Linked DNA regions of Homo sapiens: region 2 is linked to region 1. The links are contacts of gene promoters, found by promoter capture Hi-C in human tissues and cell types (Jung and others, 2019). All regions are on one chromosome and are shown on one strand. The core of a region is centred on a gene start or on the middle of the fragment in contact, and the rest is flanking DNA. Distances in the headings are between cores, read along the strand shown.

The links. The method cuts DNA at HindIII sites, captures the fragments that hold promoters and counts their contacts. A contact is called where the count stands out against the background at its distance.
Region 2: a fragment that was not itself captured here is called in contact with the fragment with the promoter of UGT2B15 in region 1 in 4 of the 25 tissues and cell types used here (adrenal gland, dorsolateral prefrontal cortex, heart left ventricle and 1 more).

The regions. Positions count from the first base shown.
Region 1 is chr4:68,667,109-68,674,027 of GRCh38, reverse strand. It overlaps UGT2B15 (UDP glucuronosyltransferase family 2 member B15), which reads left to right and starts at 3,376. Exons shown (of 6, transcript NM_001076.4): 1 at 3,376-4,133; 2 at 5,840-5,988. The coding sequence starts at 3,410. The HindIII fragment of the contact is 11,998 bases long and covers 549-6,919 here.
Region 2 is chr4:68,734,361-68,740,809 of GRCh38, reverse strand. No RefSeq gene overlaps it. Among named protein-coding and RNA genes, the nearest start is that of UGT2B15, 67 kb to the right of the region's middle. The HindIII fragment of the contact is 5,251 bases long and covers 1-3,930 here.

The DNA.
Region 1 (6,919 bases), core at 2,127-4,626:
TTTCCTCATCACAACTGTTAAAGACTTTGAAGGCTAAATTAAGAAGGTCCCACTGTGGGGTTTGAGGGCCGTCATCAACCTTCTGAAGCTTGCGCCAAATATCATGGTAGATTGGGTGAGGAACTGAAGGTTTGAAATAGTGGTTCCTTCTGGGCTGGCTGGGTCCAGGTTGGTAATTTTCTCATGGCTTCAGTTAAACAAGAGAGAAAAAGGGCTGGGTTTTTGTCAGGACCTTCGGTGATTTCTGAAAGTTTTTCATAGTTTACCACTTTATGGGCACCCTTTTTGAGTCCTGCAAGGAGACACATAATCATGAGGTCTTGATGGCTGTGTCCAGAGGCCCTGTCTTGATAATCCCAGTGGGGGTCCTGGTTGGGAACTGCCTCTGTGCCAGTAGGCTGGGCAGGAGCTTGATGATGAATTGTATTAGCATGCACCTGAGCTAGGGTCCAAGTACGGTGCTGGTCTTCTGGGGTGAGGGTGGAAGAGAAGATAAGTAGCTGTCATGCCAGGTTAGTTCATAAGACTGAGTAAGGTACTGAATCTCCCTAATATAAGAGGTAGGATCTTCTGGAAATGAACTGAGTCTTTTGTTAGTTTGAGAGAGATCAGTGAGGGAGAAGGGAACATGAACTCTAACAATACCTTCAGTTCCTGCTACTTCCCGAAGGGGGCATTCTAGCACTGGCGCTAAAGTACGGGTGGGGCATGGGCCAAAGATGGTGCCGGAGCTAGTATGGGCAGGAGAGAAGGAAGAAGCCAGAAGGGGTTCCTGCTGAGGGTTTGAAGAGGGAAGGGGGGTTGAGTTGATAGGCATTGGAGGATAGATACGGGTGTAAGGTGGCGGGATGGGTTTACAGGCTCCGTGAGAGGGCTGTAAGGAAGGAGAATGAGTACAGGCAATGCTAGAGTTTTCCTGAGGAGAGGATGGTATAGGAAAAGAAGTGGGTGATGCTGGCTGGGAAGATGGTGGCTGGGAAGATGGTGGCTGAGAAGACAATGAGGAAGCTTGGGGAGTTAATGAAGTTGGTTGAGATGGAGGGGTAGGGTCTGGGAGGGGTGGACAGCAGTCTGCTCCATCCAATGAGGAAAAAGAGGTAGGGTCGGGAGGATAAAGGCAATGAGGGCGGCGAGAATGAAGAAGGATTTGAACAGGTAAGCAAGAATTGCAGAGGTCGGGCTGTGATCTGAGTGCAAAAAGGCCTGGACACAAGGAATTTCTCCCCATTTTCCCAGTCATCTGCAATAACTGCTTAAGTCAGTTAAAACTGTAAAGCTGAGTGTTCCATTTGCGGGCCATTTGGACCCGTTATCTAATTCATACTGCGACCAGGCTTTATCGTATAAAAAAGACAAGGCACTTATGGCAGATATCTTGCCTGAGGCCTAAGGTTTGCAGATTTTTAATGAGGCAGGCTGGAGGGCTGTTTTTTGGAATTGAGGACCGGGAGTTTCCCATAATGAAGGGTAGCTCGAGAGAACAGGGAAAAAGGAGACCATCCTGGACAGCTGGAGGGAGACGATAAAAGGAGTTATCGTCTCCGCTGCCTTTTTGGTTCCTGGAACGGGATGAAATGGCTTAGAGGCATCCCCCTAAGACCAGATGACCAGCGAGTGCCTGGCGCACGCTGGCGCCTTCTTGGATCAGTGTTGGATTTTTGGACTGGAGAAACCAAGAGAGGCCATGTAGATTTTGCCCTGTTAACCGGGCTCCAAGGGAAACTTACCAGTAGGCGAGATCAGTGGCTGATGCGCATGCACAGAGAGGCGACTGGAGGCTGAGGAGCTTCCTCTGTCTAATTGCTGTGGCCTGCTCTCTGGGGTGGAGGGATAGGTCCACAAGCGACACAGACCTGAGCCCCTCCTAGGATTTGGCACCAGATGTAAGGTTCTTGAATCAGTTTGAACCCCAACAGCGCGCCAACAGACAACAGGAGGCGGTGTGGAGCAACATGCTGTTTTAATGAACGCCTGGTTGCAGGTGGGCTGAGGCCTAAAATGGCATCAGCCCCAAGTGAGGATGGGACAGGGGTTTTGTAGTCCTCTGTAAACAGTAAGTGTCCCAGTCTGTTGTGACTGCTATGTAGTACCTGGATGGCCTATTTCTTGATCTTCAGGGGTACATCTCTTCCAGCCAGGGTAAGTGTCTTCTGGCCGGCTCTCTTCCTGCTTCTGCTATCTTGCTGACACACGCTGCTGATGCAAGTGGTCTTGCATCTTGGGGCTGGGCCTGAGAAGGGAGGAGTTACTCATCCCTTCAAGCCTTCAGGTCCTGAGGAGAATCTTTGAACCCCCTGCATCACTGGCCACCCTCCTGATAGATCCCTGTGATGCCAGGCAGGAATGAGCCGCTTGGGTATCCAGAGAGCTCCCAGTGCCTTTCTGCTACTTCCTCTACCCCTGTATTTTGCTTGGCTTGGTTCTCTAATTTGACTCAGCTTCACATAAAGTCAGGAACTTCTCCTGCAAACAGAACTTCAGCTTCTCCAGTGGGGATGTGTATTCTGGAGAGGGGGATCACCCTTTCCCACTTCCATTGTTGGGGCACTCACAGTGTTTGGGATGTCTCCCAGGTCCTGCAGGAGCAGTACTCTTCCTGCAGAGGGTGTGTGGATCCTCTCAGAATTGCTGGTCTGTTCTTGCAGTTGATCTGCAGCTAAAATTCACAATGCAAGCCTCTGCATGCTGCTCTGTCTGGAGCTGCAATCTAGTCCTGCATCCCATCTGCCATGATCACTGGAAAACCCTCATTTATTTTTTAAAGGGTCCAGAAAATGCTAATCTATAGAGATAGAAATTAGATTAGTGGTTGCCTAGGGTAGGATGGATGCAAAATTTCAGAGTGGGGGGTTAGAGGCTATTGTATAGAATCTTTTGGAGATAATACTGATTATTGTAGTGGATGTAAAATTCTGTGAATATACTAGGAAACATTGAACTGTACACACTAATTGGTGAGTCATATGGTATATGAATTATGTGTCAACAAAGTTTTAGAAGACATTACTTGCACCACGATATTAAAAAATGCCGTTTGAGTTGTATAATTACTTCTTCTCTCTATGTCAAGGGCACCGAACAGGCAGGAGCCTCTCACTTGCCACTGTTCTTAACAGTATTATAAAATAATTACATAAGACAGGTTACTTACATATTCTAGGTCATAAAAATTATTGCTTGACTAGAGTAATTGTAAACATAAAAGAACACCAAACACACTAAAATAAATATGAGGTCATCAATCTTTTGTTGGTCTCCTTGGCATGCACCTATTCAGACTGTTAGTATTATGTATTTACTTCAAATTTTAGCAGTTATATTTTAACTTGATTGATTTTTCCTCAGATATAAGTATGAGAAATGACAGAAAGAAACAACAACTGGAAAAGAAGCATTGCATAAGACCAGGATGTCTCTGAAATGGACGTCAGTCTTTCTGCTGATACAGCTCAGTTGTTACTTTAGCTCTGGAAGCTGTGGAAAGGTGCTAGTGTGGCCCACAGAATACAGCCATTGGATAAATATGAAGACAATCCTGGAAGAGCTTGTTCAGAGGGGTCATGAGGTGACTGTGTTGACATCTTCGGCTTCTACTCTTGTCAATGCCAGTAAATCATCTGCTATTAAATTAGAAGTTTATCCTACATCTTTAACTAAAAATTATTTGGAAGATTCTCTTCTGAAAATTCTCGATAGATGGATATATGGTGTTTCAAAAAATACATTTTGGTCATATTTTTCACAATTACAAGAATTGTGTTGGGAATATTATGACTACAGTAACAAGCTCTGTAAAGATGCAGTTTTGAATAAGAAACTTATGATGAAACTACAAGAGTCAAAGTTTGATGTCATTCTGGCAGATGCCCTTAATCCCTGTGGTGAGCTACTGGCTGAACTATTTAACATACCCTTTCTGTACAGTCTTCGATTCTCTGTTGGCTACACATTTGAGAAGAATGGTGGAGGATTTCTGTTCCCTCCTTCCTATGTACCTGTTGTTATGTCAGAATTAAGTGATCAAATGATTTTCATGGAGAGGATAAAAAATATGATACATATGCTTTATTTTGACTTTTGGTTTCAAATTTATGATCTGAAGAAGTGGGACCAGTTTTATAGTGAAGTTCTAGGTAAGTCATGTGTCTAACTGGTGCTTATTAAGTTCTAACTTTTCTGTGCCTTTGAAGGTGAGCTTATATAAATATAATGTCAGAAGATAGTGTTTTTAAGGGAAATTATGAATTGCAAATGTAAGATGATCTATCAGTCTCAAAAATATTATAGAATGTTGACCTTATAGAATCAGTTAGAACCCTGGGGCCATCACTACTACAGGACACCCAGAGAGTCATAAACCTTCATTGTAAAGCACTAATGATTTCTTTAAACTATCACATATCATTTTGCTATACATTTTTTCATCTTTAAAAAAAGTCAATAGATACCTCAAGAAACATCTTCATGAAGGCAGACACATAAATTTAGTATTTACACATATTTCTAGAAAAATTATCAATGCAGGATTGAGGAATTTGTTTCTCTTTGAGTTCCTCAGTTTCCTCATTTAGAAATTAAATTTTGTTTTTCATGTAAGAAGGATTCCTTCACAGTTGAGTAATATAGTGGCTCTACTCCAGAAACAGAAGCCTAAAACTTGAGATTTCTAATGTTTATACATTCCTTCAATAACAGGTTGACAATTATTTCTTTCAAAAACTGAAATCTTGTTGAAAGTGAACATCTAAGTTTTAATCTATATTTTATTAAACTGCATCTCTCCATCAAAGAAAATAGGGGCCAAATTAAGGGAGAGCACATATCTCTATGTCAATAAATTCTGAAAATGTTTTAATTCTCATTTGTAAATATATTTATTTTAAAAATCTAATTATATTAAGATCTTAAGATGAACCAAGACAGTAGTAGGTGTAAAGATTTCAGTGTTGAGCTCAAAAAACTCATGGTTTACTTTGAGAACCAAGGATCAAGGGACTAGCTTAATAAACTGTAGACACTAGAGTACTTCCTGGAAAGCTGTTTTCATGGGTAAGGTAAGATGAATTAATTGTGGAACTGAAAGAGTTGTTTAAAGGTATATTTGTTACTATTGCAGCTTCAGAGGGAAGACAAATGTGTATTTAAGTTCATAGTGGCTACATTAGTCCATTCTCACACTGCTGTAAAGAAATACCTGAGACTGGGTAATTTATAAAGAAAAGAAGTTTAATAGACTCAGTTCTACATGACTGGGATGCCTCAAGAAACTTAGAATCATGGTGAAAGGCTAAGGGGAAGCAAGCTTGGATCTTCTCACTTAGTGGCAGGAGAGAGAAGTGCAAGCAGGGGAAATACTAGACACTTATAAAACTATCAGATCTCATGAGAGCTCACTCAATATCATGAGAACAGCATGGAGGAATCCACACCATGATCCAATCACCTGCCACTGGGTCCCTCCCTGGACACATGGGGATTATGGGGATTATAATTCAAGATGAGAGGAGATTTGGGTGGGGACAGTCAAACCATATTAGTGACTTATTTTAATAATTATTTATGATTGTGAATATACTGATGTTACATTAAAGATGTGATTTCTTCTTACAGATCTCTGAATACATTGCCTTCCTTATATATACATATGAGCAACATATGCAATAAATAAAATCTAAATTATGACTATATATAAATGTATTTATATATATTTTATCAATGCACAGACATTTTATATATGTTTGGGTATGTTATTCCAAGTCCTTTCAGGAAAATACCTGCATATTCAAATAACAATTCTCGTGTTAGCTACCTTTTGTTTTGTTTTGTTTTTTTCCATCAGGAAGACCCACTACATTATTTGAGACAATGGGGAAAGCTGAAATGTGGCTCATTCGAACCTATTGGGATTTTGAATTTCCTCGCCCATTCTTACCAAATGTTGATTTTGTTGGAGGACTTCACTGTAAACCAGCCAAACCCCTGCCTAAGGTAAATGTATTCTTGTTTCATTTGTTTGCTTGACATTTTCAGAAGGAATGGCTGGATATGTTTCTTTCAGAGTGTTTAACTCAGAGTGAGGGGAATATGGGAGGTCAAAAACAAGGACTTGCCATTAGAAAATCATATATTTCTGTAGTATCACAAGTATGTGAATGTTATTATCATTAAAGACCAAAGAGGTTTACTAGGGAGATTTTGAAAACAGGGTTGGTTAAAGTAAGGCCTTCATTGTGCCACCCAAAAGATAGTATGATTCATTTCTTCAAAAAATATTTGTAGAGTGATTAATACAAACCACAGGTAAGTGCTGGATTTTCAGAGAATAAAGGTAGCACAGTTTCTGCTCCCTCATGCCTTACATTGTACTTTGAAAGATAGAATAAAAACAAGTGAAAAAGAAAAGTCTAAAAAGTGTTATAAGGAAAGACCACAATGATAAAGAAATATGCAGAAGAGATCCCAAACTCATTGACAATTAAAGTGAGTACTCAATAATGTGCAGAGATAGGTGAAACGATGAGGGGTTGATAAACACCCAAAAAGAAAACCAGAGGCCAGGCAAGGTGGCTCACACCTATAATCCCTGCACTTTGGGAGGCAGAGAAGGCATGATTGCTTGGGCTCAGGAGTTTGAGACCAGCCTGGGAAACGTGGTAAAACCTCATCTCTAACAAAAATAAAAAATAAAATAATAGCCAGGCATGCTGGTGTGTGCCTGTAGTCTCATAGTCGTAGCTACTTAAGAGGCTGAGGCAGGAGGCTTGCTTGAGTCTGGGAGCAGAGGCTGCAGTGAGCTGAGACCACACCACTGAACTCTAGCCTGTGCGACAGAGCGAGACTCTGTCTCAAAAACAAACAAATAAACAAAAAAAAAAAAAGTAAAGGCTTGCATTAAGGCAGAAAAGTAGAAAAGCAATAA
Region 2 (6,449 bases), core at 56-2,555, 69 kb before region 1:
TAAAATAAGGAAAAGACTAGACATTCATTCTTATTACTTCTATTCAACATTATATTGGAGATTCCAGCCAAAGCAAATAGGAAGTAACACAAAACAAAAATAATCCTTATTAGAAGGTAAGAAATAAGTACACTCTCTTTGTTGACAAAAGGCATGACCTTATGTAAAGAATATCTTAGACTTTCCTAGAAAATATTAGATCAACAACAAAATAAGCACATTTTTAGGACTAACGGTCAACCTTCAAATATTAATTGTATTGTTACATAATTGAACAATACAGAAGAAAATAACATGTTCAAAAATCCTACATAAAATATAATCAAAAATTATTTTAAAAAAACAGGAAAAACATTAAAAGAATTGCAAAACTTAGGCCAGGTGCAGTGGCTCATGCCTGTAGTCCCAGCACTTTGGGAGGCCGAGGCGGGCAGACCATGAGGTCAGAAGTTCGAGACCAGCCTGGCCAACATGGTGAAGCCCCAGCTCTACTAAAGATATAAAAAATTAGCCAGGCGTGGTGGCGTGAGCCTGTAATCCCAGCTACTTGGGAGGCTGAAGCAGGAGAATCACTTGAACCTGGGAGGTGGAGGTTGTAGTGAGCTGAGATGGCACCATTATACTCCAACCTGGGTGACAGAATGAGACTCCATCTCAAAAAAATAAAATAAATTGCGAAACTTAAAACTTAAATTGTAAAAGTTACTAAATATTGAGGAATAAAATTCTTAATGAATAAATAAAATCTCATATTCCTCAATTGAAAATCTTAATTAATAAACAAATTAACCAAAATCCATATTAAATTCCCAGCTGGGTTCTTTACAGAAATAAACATGCTCATTCTAAATTAATATAGATATACAGGAGACCAAAAAATAGCGAGATATATATATATATATACACACATACACATACGTGTGTGTGTGTATATATACTATATATATACACACTATATATATACACACTATATATATATACACACACACAATATATATATATATATATATATATATATATATATATGTATAATTTTTTTGAGACAGAGTCTTGCTCTGTGGCCAGGCTGGAGTGCAGTGGCACAATCTCAATAACCAGTAATATTTTGAAAAATAATTTAGTCCTTGCATTTCCGATTTTCAACCAACAACATATCATCAATAGTTATAAGAGTGTGACACAGGAACACAGATCACCATATAAATAAATGGAACAGATTTTAGAATCCAGAAATCCTTTTACACAGTGGTGACTTAATTTTTGAGAAAGACGTCAAACTATTGAATAGGAAAACAACAATATTTTCCACAAATACTTCTGGGAGACTGATTATCCAAAGGCCAAAAAAACAAGATACACTTTCTCTGACAACACATAAAGAACTAATTTAAAATACATCAACAACCCAAAGTTAACAAACAGAAGTACAAAACCCAGAATAGAAAAAGTAAATCTTTTCTATCTTCAATTTGGCAATGGTTTCTAGGACAAGGCAACAAAGTCACAAAAAACTAAGTTAAAATGGATAAACTGATATTCTTATAAATGAATATGTTTGTTCTTGAAAGGACACCATCAAAAAAGTGTACTGATGATAAGTAGAATTTAAAAAGTTCTAATTCATATATCTGATAAGAAACGTTTATTAAGAATATACGGAGCAAGAGACTTCTGGTTCCAAAATGGCAGAGTAGAGACAAGCAGCCTTTTTTTCTTCATGCAAAACAAAACAAAACAAACATATGGCACTGAGATCTACACCACAACAACCAAAAGCTTAATTAAGAGGATAACACATTTCCCAGTGTCATAAAAGTAGAAAAAGTCTGAGTAGACACTACGTAGGGGAATTATATGTCTATGTCTACATTAATAATGCCCCTAACTTGCAACTCTGCTCTGCACCAAAAACGCAGAATATCTATCTCCAATTCATGATTTACAATATGATTTGGATCTGTGTCCCCACCCAAATCTCATTTTCAGTTGTAATCACCAGTGTTGGAGATGGGTTTTCTGGGAGGTGATTGGATCATCAGGTGGATCTTTCATGAATGATTCAGCACTATCCCTTTGGTGCTGTTCTTGTAACAGCATTCTCAAGAGATCTGTTTGTTTAAAAGTGTGTAGCACCTCCTACAACTCCCTTCCTCTTGCTCTGGCCATATGAGGTGTTGACTGCCCTTTTGCCTTCCACTATGATTGCAAGCTTCCTGAGGCCTCCTGAGAGGTAGAAGCCACTATGCTTCCTGTATAGCATACAGAATGTGAGGCAATTAAGCCTCTTTACTTTATAAATTACTCAATGTCAAGTAATTTTTATATAAATGAGAGAAAGACAAACTGATATGGTCACTAAGCTTCCCCATCTTATCAAGTTCCCTGGTAGACCTGTCTTTCCTTAACCCAGTGGAAATGTTATGAGTGCATGAAGGGAGAAACATTCCTGAGGACAGGCAGAGACAAAAAAGAGAGGCAGGACTACCAACCTCTTAGACATGGAAACTCTTCTCCGTAACTCAGCCAAAAATTGACCTCAAATCAGAGTAGTTGCTTAGCAACAGCATGCTGTAGGATGTAAGTTCTTTAGGTATACTGGGAACAAGCCCTTAGGCAGTGTTCTCACACTTCCAGGATAATCCATTTGGAACCCCCATCACTTGGGACAGGCAGAGCTCTAATCATTCACATGAGCTGAGGTAAACCTGGGCTTAACATGTCACCTAGAACTAAAGTGAATGCAGTGACTTTTCGGTAAAGATTTTCTAAGCAAATATATTCCATTAAAAAAAGACAGAAAAAAAATGGAACAAATAATCCTTCAATGCAAAGGCATGCATATATTCACAAGAAACAACAGAGAACAGGGAACCAGGACCTCTCCAAAAGGACAATGCAAAAATCTAGTGATTGACACTAATAAGATAACCCAATTTCTGAGCTCTCTGACCCAGAATACAAAATAGCAGTTTTAAGAAAACTTAGTAATGTCTAAGTTAACACAGGAAGTTATTTCAGAAATTTATCCGAGAAATTTAACAAAAAGGTTAAAATAATACAAAGAAATCAATCAGAAATCTTGGAACTAAGAAATGCATTTGCTGAATTCAAAATCCATTAGAGGTCTTAAACCACAGAATGATCCAAGCCCAGAAAAGAATCTGTGAGCTCTAAGACTCGTTATTTTATTTTTAAAAAGTCAAGAGAGAATAAAAAAGCAAGTGCCACCTACAAAATATAGAAAATTACTTCAAAAGACCCAGTCTAAGAATTATTGGTGTTCAAGAGAGATGTGAGTAAGAGCAAGGGTAGAACGCTCATTCAAAAAAATAGTAACAAAAAACTTTTCAAAACTTGAGAAACATAAAATGTCCAGGTACAGAAAGGTCTTAGAACACAATGCAAACCCAAATAAGACTACCCCAATTAACAAAATAATCAAAGTCACAAAGGACAAAAAAAAATACATTAAAGAAAAAAGATTGAAATCAGCAAGTGAAAGCAAATAACATATAAAACAGCGCCAATATTTATGGAGATAGACTTCCCAAAAGAAACTATACAGACCAGGAAGGACTGGAATGATGTTTTCAAAGTGCTCAACACAAAAGGATGCCACCAAAAAATATTGAAACAAAAATAATTATCAATCAAATATAAATGAGAGATGAAGTATTTACCAGGCAAACAAAACATAGAATTGACCACTGAGCTAGTCAGAGGAGAAGGAGGTCCCCAGAGAATCTCCAACAAGCCTGTGCACTGGGAGGAATGTGCACTGGGGTGGAACCTCAGGAATTTTGCACTGTTTGCAACAGGGAGGAGCCCGGCAAATATCCCATGTGGAACCTGGGATTCAAGCTGCTAGTGGGAAGCACTCTGGCAGGGGTCTCCAGCCTTGTGGAAGATCCCTGTTTCCCCTTTTTTTTTCCTTTTCACCCAATAAAACCCTGCTTTACTCACCTGTTGAACCATCTGCCAGCCTAAATTTTCATGGCCCTGAGATGGACAAAGACACCATTGCGTTATTTAGTCCACCTATTTACACTGTAATGACATCTGCTTTTTACCATTAATCTTTAAGCCTCTTCCTATTTCTCAAAGATTAAAGTCACGTGAACTGAACGGTACCACAGTTTTTAACTTCTCTTTAAAAAATATTAGATGCAAGTGTTTGTCTTTTTCAGGCCAAAATCATTTAGAGCTCTTTCTGCAGACATTACACATAACACACACGCAGACAGGCAGGAGAAAACCCAGTTCCTGGGTGGGGTTTTATAAGAGCCAGGCCAAGGAAAACATGCAGATATCAAACCTGAAAAAGAGTCAGTCCCTAAGGCAGGATAAGCCCCTACTTTGTGCAACAAAATGCACAGTGCAGGTGAGTGTGGCTGTTTCCTGCCAATTAAGTGAAGCCCAAGCTCCCTGGTTCATGGATAAAAGCCTTGTTAGTATCCATGGCATAGATGAGGTCTAGGGACTCCCAGACTACTGAAAGCAGGGGAGATAGGGTGTATGTGGGTAAGTGGGTAAGAGTGAATGTTCTCACCCCCTAGGCCCCACTGGTTCATGGGTGCATGTTGCTTTGACACCTGTTTCAGCACATACCAAGGTTACCAGCACTCGGGGAAGCAAGGACGGAAGAAGAAAAGAGGATGCTCTTTCTCCCTCATGTACCCCAGGTATCTGCTAGAAAGAGAAGAGAACTAGGGACACCTGCCACCCTCTTCCTAGGTGAGTAGCCATTCACCTTCAGTCTGTACCCATTTTGAATGCATCATGACCCCCTGGGACTTCTTTAAAAGGTGCCTTCTTTTTCCTTTCTTCTCCTCTGTTCTCTCTTCACGGATAGGTAATTATGTCTCCGTATTCTGGGACATTCCCCTCAGATGCATCTTCCAAACTGGAAAGAGTTAACTTTCCAAACCTTAAGCTGGTTGGCTAAAGATTGGGCCCAGAAGAAGGGAACCCAGAAGACCAACATGCCAGCAAAAGGGTATTTTACCAGTCTGGCTTTTGGCCTTTCTCTCCCTGTGCAAAGTGATAAAAGGCCTCAGAATTTTTGAGCTATCCTTACTCCTCCCCTTGTTTCATTTTGATACATGTTTTCTAATAACCTAGTTTGTCTGTTCTTGCCTTCAGGGCATCAAACTCCAAACAATAATGCAAGCAGAGTCTCTGACAATGGCCCTTTCTGCTGGGGGAACTCTTAGATAGGCCTGTGAGTGAGCTCTGACCACCATTTCCCAAAAACAGCACCCCTTGTCAGCAGGAAGCAGTAAAGATTGATCTTCCTTATGCTCTTTCAAATAGCATTCAGATGTACTTCTTTACAAGGGGGAAAGAGACAGCCAGGTAGGAGGTGGTCCCCAGAGAATCTCCAAAGAGCTTGAACACTGAGAAAAATGTTCACTGGGGTGGAACCTCAGCAAGTTTGTGCCATTTGCAGTGGGGAAGAGCCAGGCCCCTCCTCTTTCTGTGTGGAAGCTGGGATTCAAGCTTTGAGCAGGAAGCACTCTAGCAGGGGGACTCTGGCCTTTCAGAGTCCTCGACATTCAAACCATCTGTGAGCCTAAATTTTTGTGGCCATGGGACAGACAAGGATCCCATCTTTAGCTGAACTAAGGAAAAGTCCTGAGACTCCACCACCAGACCCATCTTGCAAAAAATGCTAATGGGAGCTCTTCAGTCAGAAAGAGTAAAACACTATCATGCAAAAAGTAACTTTTCAAGGTATAAAAACAAGTGGTAAAATTGAGTACATGCAAAAACCCAGAATAAGCTAGTACTGAATTTGTGTTCTGCATTTCACCTATCCCAGAAAACATAACAACTATAGCAACCGGTTAAGAAACAGATGATATACAAATATGTAAATCAAGATAACTATGAGTCAAAATGGGTAGGTGATTGAGTTAAAGTATATACATTTTCTGTGACTTTTGCCCTTATTTATTTTATAATTTTATTTGCAATCTAAGTTGTGATCTCTTTAAAATAACATGCCATATCTCTAAAATGGTTTTCTGTAAGTCTACTGGTAACCACAGTTAAGAAATCTATCATTGATGTACTTAAAAAGCAGCAACTTGAAATATACTACCAGAGACAATCACCTAATTATGAAGAAAGACAGGAAGGAAGGAAGAGAGGAGTCTAAAAACAAACAGTAAACAATCAACAAAATGGCTCTAGTAAGCCTTACTTGTCAATAATAAAAATGGATGTAAATTGTCTCAGTTCTCAGTTAAAAGACATAGAATGGCTGAATAAAGAATCATGCTGCCTTAAAGAAACCCACTTCACTTATAAAGCCATACATAGACTGAAAGTGAAGGGATGGCAAAATATATTCCATGCAACTAGAAACCAGAAAAGTACAGGTGTAGTTATAAACAGATTACAAATCAGACGGGAAAAAAAAAACAAAAAACAAAGACAGTAACTAC